Regions from separate parts of the Homo sapiens genome. Here regions 1 and 2 are each linked to region 3. Evidence: promoter capture Hi-C in 16 types of primary human blood cells and fetal thymus (Javierre and others, 2016). All regions are on one chromosome and are shown on one strand. The core of a region is centred on a gene start or on the middle of the fragment in contact, and the rest is flanking DNA. Distances in the headings are between cores, read along the strand shown.

What was found. The method cuts DNA at HindIII sites, captures the fragments that hold promoters and counts their contacts. A CHiCAGO score of 5 or more calls a contact.
Region 1: a contact is called between a fragment that was not itself captured here and the fragment with the promoter of LRRK1 in region 3, in 1 of 17 cell types (endothelial precursors). The highest score is 8.9, in endothelial precursors.
Region 2: a fragment that was not itself captured here is called in contact with the fragment with the promoter of LRRK1 in region 3 in 1 of 17 cell types (M2 macrophages); the score reaches 5.2 in M2 macrophages.

Annotation. Positions count from the first base shown.
Region 1 is chr15:100,658,904-100,661,603 of GRCh38, reverse strand. No RefSeq gene overlaps it. Among named protein-coding and RNA genes, the nearest start is that of ASB7, 58 kb to the right of the region's middle. The HindIII fragment of the contact is 6,586 bases long and covers 1-2,700 here.
Region 2 is chr15:101,237,039-101,239,738 of GRCh38, reverse strand. The region is part of intron 1 of CHSY1 (chondroitin sulfate synthase 1); the gene reads left to right. Among named protein-coding and RNA genes, the nearest start is that of CHSY1, 14 kb to the left of the region's middle. The HindIII fragment of the contact is 3,097 bases long and covers 1-2,700 here.
Region 3 is chr15:100,917,923-100,920,622 of GRCh38, reverse strand. It overlaps LRRK1 (leucine rich repeat kinase 1), which reads right to left and starts at 1,266. Exons shown (of 34, transcript NM_024652.6): 1 at 1,172-1,266. ALDH1A3-AS1 (ALDH1A3 antisense RNA 1) reads left to right here and starts at 1,340. Exons shown (of 2, transcript NR_135827.1): 1 at 1,340-1,819. RefSeq lists enhancers at 224-815, 1,990-2,109, 2,160-2,249, 2,002-2,594 and silencers at 1,030-1,619, 2,380-2,599. The HindIII fragment of the contact is 4,524 bases long and covers 1-2,700 here.

The sequences.
Region 1 (2,700 bases), core at 188-2,687, 260 kb after region 3:
TAATGCCCCCGCAAGAAGCTCAGCTGCATTGAGTGGCTGGGAAAGGATTCGTAGGTGCCATGGTTTCTTTTACTGTTCAGGGGTTACGGGGTGGGTTGGTCAGGCTGCAGCCAGCTGGAGCTGGCAAGGTGTTTTCTATCTGCGATCGGCAATTGGGGCAATGCTACCCATGCTTCTTAGAGACACTTCATTGGCAGGCCGCCTCACGGGCAGTGCCAAGGCACATGCTGGCTGAGGCAGCTAGAGTCATCGTCTCTCCCACCCTGGAGCAGGCTAGGGCTGTCATTATTCACGTTTGGCACACATTATTATTTACAAGCCACCAAATGAGACTGAAGAACATTAACAGCAGGATAACAGAACTACAGGCTACTGGTTTTGTCTGTGCCCAACTGAAATTAAGTAGTTGCAAAAGATAATTGGAGACATGAAGGTCTCGATGTCGAGCCAGCTTGTAGTGTAGCCGGAGAGATTTGTAGTCTTTGTTCACATAACACATGCAGAACTATTCAAGGCCGGCCCATAAAATACAAAGACTCAGTTTCACGTGTGGGTTCTGAAAAATCACTGCATCTTTACTTACATCTCATGGATAAGCAGATAGGTGGCTTTTCTAACATCTCATAGTGACTGTAGGATTTCTTTCTTTTTCTTTTTTTACCTTGTCCTTTCTTTGCTACAAAGAGTCCAAATACCCTCACACAGTGGTTCTAAGTTGGGTCCACAGACCAACAGCACACACCTCACAGTCCAAATACCCTCACACAGTGGTTCTAAGTTGGGTCCACAGACCAACAGCACACACCTCACCTGGGTGCTTGTTAGACACGGAGATTATTATTTTTTATTTTTTGAGACGGAGCCTCACTTTGTCACCCAGCCTGGAGTGCCGTGGCACGATCTTGGTTCACTGCAACCTCCGCCTCCCGGGCTCAGGCAATTCTTGTGGCTCAGCCTCCTGAGTAGCTGGGACTACAAGCACATGCCACCACGCCTGGCTAATTTTTTTTTTTTTTTCTGCTTAGTAGAGATGGAGCTTCATCATGTTGGCCAAGTTGGTCTTGAACTCCTGACCTCAGGTGATCTGCCTGCCTCAGCCTCCCAAAGTGCTGGGATTACAGGCATGAGCCGCCATGCCCGGATAGACGTGGAGATTCTTAAGCCCCACCTGAGAACCGCTGCATCTGAAATTCTGGGGGTAGGACCCGCACTATTTTAAAAAGCGCTCCAGTGGGTACAGATGCTTGCTCACCTGCACTAATGCAGAGAGTACCGTAATTCCACACCCCAGGGATGGCACCGTAATTCCACACCCCAGGGATGGCACCGTAATTCCACACCCCAGGGATGGCACCGTAATTCTACACCCCAGGGATGGCACCGTAATTCCACACCCCAGGGATGGCGTACGTTTTGAATCTGGAAAGTAGAAGTCCCCGGCTCCGCACAGCCCCAGCCCTGATCTCCACCCAGCCCAATCTTCCCGTGCCAGCCCTGCTTCTGTCCTCTCGCCCACCATCTGGGCTCCCACGCGGGCTCCTTCCAAGTGCTGGCACAAATCTGGTCCTTCAGCATAGGTGCTCAAAAAGTATGTGTCGAATGAGCTAGCGGCACTCACCAGGGTCATTTCTAAACCCTCCTGGGATTTCGTGAACATGTGCAGTAAGGAACACCAGGGCAGAACCGAACGGGGGTTAGGCTTGAGTTAGAAGCACCGTGGGACTCCTCTCAGGGTCTGTATCACTTCCAGGGGATAGACTCTGACCTGAAAAATCTCTCAAAGTGCATGTCATGCAAAGATGAGCTTCTACTAAGCAGGCTTTTTATTACTGCCCACTAAAACACAAGGTGATTAGAGTACTTTTTAATTAAATAATTGTTAGATGGAGTAGGAAGTAATGGTATCGGTTAATCTCAGGGTAGGGTTTTTTTTTTTTGAACCCTCTAATAACTTCCTAAACATCAAGCATTTCCATGAAGCTAGCCAAAGTTACTTAATTATAGGCTTCATGAGTAAGTGTTTCTACAGAATTCTCAAAGGCTCCTCATATAACACACGGTTTGGATGTTTCCACGCGGAGCCTATATACATGCTTTTTAAAAATTTTTTTTAGAGACGGAGTCTCGCTCTGTCGCCCAGGCTGGAGTGCAGTGGCACGATCTCGGCTCACTTGCAACCTCCGCCTCGCGGGTTCTAGCAATTCTCCTGCCTCAGCCTCTGGAGTAGCTGGGACTATAGGCGCACACCGCCAAGCCCGGCTAATTTTTTGTATTTTAGTAGAGACAAGGTTTCACCGTGCTGCCCAGGCTGGTCTCGAACTCCTGAGCTCAGGCAATCCACCTGCCTCCGCCTCCCAAAGTGCTAGGATTACAGGTGTGAGCCACAGCGCCCGGCCTGTGCTTTTTTATCTCAAGGCACAAAGCTGTCCAGAAGTGCATGCCACGAGGACTTCAACACCTGGGAGCCAGCCCGGCTCACGGATGAGGCAGCAACCGAACTCAGGTGCCGGCATCCCCACCCTGCCCGGCCACCAGTCACTGCAGGGCCTGGCATCGGTTACATAGTGGCTCTCCTGGGGGTGGGGGCTCCTTCCAGGCAGGTGAGCACACCCTGGTGACCAGAATGTCACAGCTCATCACCAAGACACTCGACGTCGCTGTTGCATCCCCTCACAGCTGTGAGAGTCTCCCTTCAAAGGC
Region 2 (2,700 bases), core at 183-2,682, 320 kb before region 3:
TACATAGCTTGAGGCTCAGGTTTTAAGAAGCATTTTCCACATTACCTTTGCTCCGTGTGCTCCTGAGACTGACTAGTCCACGTGGAGCCCACACTTTCCTGTTCTTTCACTACCTTATTTGATTTGCAAACTCTTGTCTTCCTTAATAATAAGTCATACTTACATAGTGCCAGGCAGGCTTCTAAGCTGTTTACAGAGAGCTCATTTAACCCTCACAACAACCCCCGTTTACAGATAAGGAAACTGAGGCACAGAGTAACTTGTCCCAAGTGGAGCTGGAGTTCTCGCCCCCATGGCCTGATTCCAGAGCCAGCTCTTGCGGTGATGCTGTAGATTCGCCTCCTTAGTTGGTTGTTCTTTGAAGGCAGGAATTGTCTCGCCCACCCCATCTCCCAAATAACATTACAGTGTTTTAGTATTTTCATGGCTTCCTAGGTTGAAAATTTCTCAAAGTACAAGATAGAAATGATTTCTGACCTTTTGCAAACACGTGTGGCACCATTAAGTTACTTATTGTACATGAGTGGGCAGTATTCAGTGCACACATTTAGTGACCTCTATTATGTGCCAAGCACTGAAATTATTTACATTTTCAAAGAATTGTTGCGACTGCCAAATGAAAAACATTTCTCTATAAAGAGAGCATTATCAGGGGCTCCTCGACTTGAATGGGGGGTCATTGCACTATAATTTTGTCCTTACTAACTTCCCAAGGCTGGAGGAGTTCTGAGAAGTTATCTCCCCTCCATATGTCACCGCATCAGAAGACTCTGTATAGCTTGTCACACATTCACACATTGTCGCATTTGCAAAAGGACTTGTCCCTTTGTAGGTGGGATTGGTTTTTCTTTAAATTAATTTCCACATCTCTACGTTTATTCTACATCCTTTTTCTTCAGGAGCATATCCTTTGTGAAAATGAAGTGCAGTACCTAGAACAGTATCTGTTAATAACCGTGGAATGAATGTCTGGGCTGAATTTGTTTTTTGTTGTTATTCTTGTTCTTTGTTAATGAGTTATTTAAGTGGCGTAAGAATACAGGTCCATTTTAAATCCATAGGCACTAAGGGAAAACATTAACAACACCATCTTATATCCATTCTGTGATTTTGACATCTCAGAAATTAGGATGCATTTTATAGTTACCGGCGTCATGGGATTATGATTGGCAGTATTTTTTAAATTTGTTGATAGATAAAACAATGGTGCATCTTCCAGTTAACATCCTAAATGTGATGAAAAAATGTATATATTTAATCCTTGCACTTTTTGAGAGGCGTGTTGGCAGAAAGTCGAATTCCATTGAATTTTGCCTCTACTTGAAAGAGATACATTCGAAGTTGTTTTGTATTCCTCATATTTGGGTTTGGAAGAGAAATAAAAGCCAGTCATTTGTTTTCCAAGTGCTTCATTGTAAGTTCTTTTTAAAATTACAAAAGTAAATATTTAGAATCTCAGTTTTGCAAGATGAAAAAAGTTCTGGAAATGGATGGTGCCGATGGTTTCACAACACTGAATGCTGCTGAACTTTACATTTAGAAATGGTTAAGATGGTAAGTTTTATGTTATGTATATTTTATCACAATTTTTTTTAAAAAAAACAATATGATACTTATGCAGTTGTCCTTCAATATAGAGATGCATAGAATAAAAAGTGAAAGTCACCTTTGTCCACACACATTCCAGCTCCTCCCAATTTTCCTCCTTGTGTACCTCTTCCGCAGAGATTTGGTGTGTATCTTTTCAGATATTTCTCTCCTAAGACTTTCCCTTAAAGATGTGTGGGGGTTTCATTGATCCTTCAAGTAATTTTTCACTATAATAAATACACTTGTAACAGGTAAAATAAAAAATATTTGAAAGAACATCATTTGATAACTGCTTTTTTTATTTTAAGATTAAATTTACTATTTTATTTATTCTCCACGATACATTTTTCTTGGAAGTAGTCTGTATGAATGAATTATTATAGCCAAACAACTTTAGATCTGAATACAGAACGTGAAGAAAGTAGGAGGGAAAGTGCGATATGATAGCCTTCAATTAGCTGCTCAGCAGAAGCAGCCTTTACGTGGTTTCCTCGCAGTTGACCACTCATCTTCCCTCTGTCGATGGGCAACCGTTGTCTCTTACACCCTTTACGTGGTTTCCTCGCAGTTGACCACTCATCTTCCCTCTGTCGACGGGCAACCGTTGTCTCTTAAACCCTTTATGTGGTTTCCTCGCAATTGACCACTCATCTTCCCTCTGTTGATGGGCAACCGTTGTCTCTTAAACCCGGGTCTGGGCTGCTGCAGTAGTTTACTCAGTGGTCTTCCTGTGTCCACTCTGGCTTCCTTCGGCCTTCTTCTCCATTCCTAGGGAGTTCAAAATGTGTGGGCCTTAATCTTGTCTTCTGCCGCATTCCCTCTAGAGGCTTCCTGTGGCTCTTGCAACATAGAGGCCTGCATCTCTAGTGTACTCTGCCAGGCCTTGCACATTTGCCTCTGTTTTTTTTTTTTTTTTTTTTTTTTTTAGATGGAGTCTTGCTCTTTTGTCCAGGCTGGAGTGCAGTGGTGCGATCTCGGCTCATTGCAACCTCTGCCTCCCGGGTTCAAGCAATTCTTCTGCCTCAGCCTCCTGAGTAGCTGGGATTACAGGCACACGCCACCATGCCTGGCTAAATTTTGTATTTTTTTTTTTAGTAGAGATGGGGTTTC
Region 3 (2,700 bases), core at 17-2,516:
ACATTTTAGACATAGATTCAACAGACTGAATGTTTTTTATCTGAGGATCCGAGTTGACTGCGAGGTCACTGCCAGAGACATCGACTTTTGGGAGAGGGAAAGGTTTGGCTGACCGCAAAACCTCCTTTAGGAACAAATTAGGTGTGAGGTTAGTTTGTTATATTATTTTCTCTTTCAGGACATAGGCAAAGATGAAGAGAATCAAATCATAAAAGGCGTTTAATGTTAACATTTTCCAAAATTGTGCATGTTCTAGCTATCCCTTTAATGTCTGGGCATTTTGATACCCTGTGAGTGGCTGGCAAACTCTATCATTAGTGTACACGGTGAGAGGTTTGCTGAAAGCTATATGCCCCCGTTTCTCTACCTGTTGCAGGGGAAGTGTTCGTGGGAGAAAAACTTCGCGGCCTCATACTGTGAAGGGGTAGGTTGAGATGGCCACGGGGGTTCTCAGATTCTCCACCAGCGTCTCCTCGCTGACCCCGGCCTTCCTAGGCTTCCTTCCCGCGTCCCTGCCTGCCAGGAAGGTCCCCTGTAGCTTGCAGAGACCATGGTAGACAGAGCAGTTGTATCTGCGCCAGCCAGAGACCACCTGGGCAAGAAGCGTGACCCAGACATCGAGGAGGGTGAAGCCTCGCTGGGCCGCCCCGCAACCCCAGGAAGCCCCGGACCAGCGAGAGGCTCCCGGGCGGTCTCTTGCCGACACCCCGGCACGGGCTCACCCGCGCGCTCACACTCCGCCCGCTCCCCGCTAAGGGACTGGGTTCGCTCCAAAGGCAGAGGAAACCTATGGGCTCCCCGGCTCGTGTCTCCCGACTCGTGTCTCTTGCCTCCGCTTCCCAGCTTTCCCGACCCTGCCCGGACGGGGTTTCGGGGTTCCCTGCTCGGGCCCCGCGCGCTCCCCTCCCACAGGCTGGCTGGGCTCCGGGCGCGGCGGGAGGCAGCGGGGACGTGAGACCGGGGTCGCCCCACACGCCCTCCGCGCCCCTCGGGCCGCGGCCCCTGCGCAACGGCCCCCCGTGCCCGACCACGCGGCCGCCCGGAGCGCAGGGGCCCGCGGGCAGGCAGAGGCCGAGGCTCCCCGCGGGCGCCGGGCGCGGGCTCTGGGTTCCCCGGGCGGGGCCGGGAGGCAGCCAGGCCGCCGGGGGGCGCCGGCAGGAGCGGCGCTTACCTGAGGCGGCGGCGGGGCCGGGTGCGGGCGCTCCGGGACGCGGGGCCGGGCGGACACACTGGCGGGGCCGGGGCCTGGCCGTCCCACCGCCGTCTGCCCCCCGCGCCGGGGCCGGGCCCAGACGCACTTCCTCAATCCTGAGGCGGGCGGGCGGGGAGGGCGGCGCGAAGAGCGCGCAGAGCAAGGCCGCCGCCAGCTCTCCCAGGAACCGTCGCGAGGCGTCCCCTCGGCGGCCGCCTCAGTTTCCCTGGCCGTAAAACGCGGGCGATGGCGCTCGATGCCCCGGGAGACGCCGGGGTCCGCGGGCCCTTCCGGCACCGGGTCCTCCTTCAGGTTCGGGCACCCGGCTGCCTCCACGCGGGGCGAGCGCGGCGATGGGATCGGTCCGTGCTGCGCTCAGCCCCGCTTTCGCTATCCCTCTGCTCCAGGGGCAGCAAAATCAGCAGATGAGCCCCCAGCGCGCCTGCGGCCCACACACTGCGGCCGTAACAGTTAAACAGACGGGGAACATTCATGTGCGTAGAGCTCTTCACGGGGCGATACAGAAATGTGTCGTTCTAAAGCGTTAACGACCTGCAATTTGCATATCCTCCAACACATGGATTTTACTGATTCAATTATGGATGTGTGCAAAGAATCTGCTGCTCGGTGAGTCATTGTTAATTGTCGGCTTTGGGGGGAATACATAAAACGTGGAATATTGGCAATTTATCGTGTTTCGACCTTTTATAAAGGCGTCACCAGGCTGCTGAGGCTAATACAGAAACGCAGACCATAAAAAAGATCTGCGTCCACGCTGCAGGCGGGCCTCACGCTGAGCTCCCCGTGTCGACCCGGGGACAAAGCCTGCTCAGGAAGAGCAGAGGGTTCCACGCCCTGCAGGACCAGCGCCCTGGGCCCCTCTCCTGGAAAGTTATGACTCGCACGTTCCCAGGATTTAGCGCACATCTCCCCCACCCTCACTGCCATTTCACAGAACCGGGGCAGCCGCAGGGCTCCTGCAGGACCTCCCGGACGCCGCGGGGCCGTGTTCCCTTGAGCGGCTTCTTGGGTCCCTGGTTGGAGAGGGGACCACCGAGCAGCTTCGCTCTGCTCCTGGGAGGCTACTTCTGCCACTGGACGACTTTCCAAAAGGGTGAGCGCAGTTCTGCAATCCTGTTCTCACCCCTGAGGGCCTCACACCAGTTTGCAGGAGCCAGCAGTGTGATTGCCACCGACAAGTTCCCAACAATTTGCAGGGCGTGGTGTCCTCAGTGCTGAGAGAGCCCCGCGACGGCGGTGCAGCTCCTCCAGGGCGCGCAGCCCCGCCACCTGGCGCCACCGCGAGGGAGCGCAGGCCCAGGGCCCGGGCAGACGCTGGAGGGGACGCGGCAGGTGAAGATGGGGCACCTCCACTTCCCTTCTAAAGGAGCCTGGGAATAGGCTAGGAAATGTCCCCACTGTAGAAGACAGCAGGAACATCTGACACGCGGATAACCTGTGCTGAGCTCGTTATATTCCCAGCATTTAATTCTAGCCATTAGGCATGC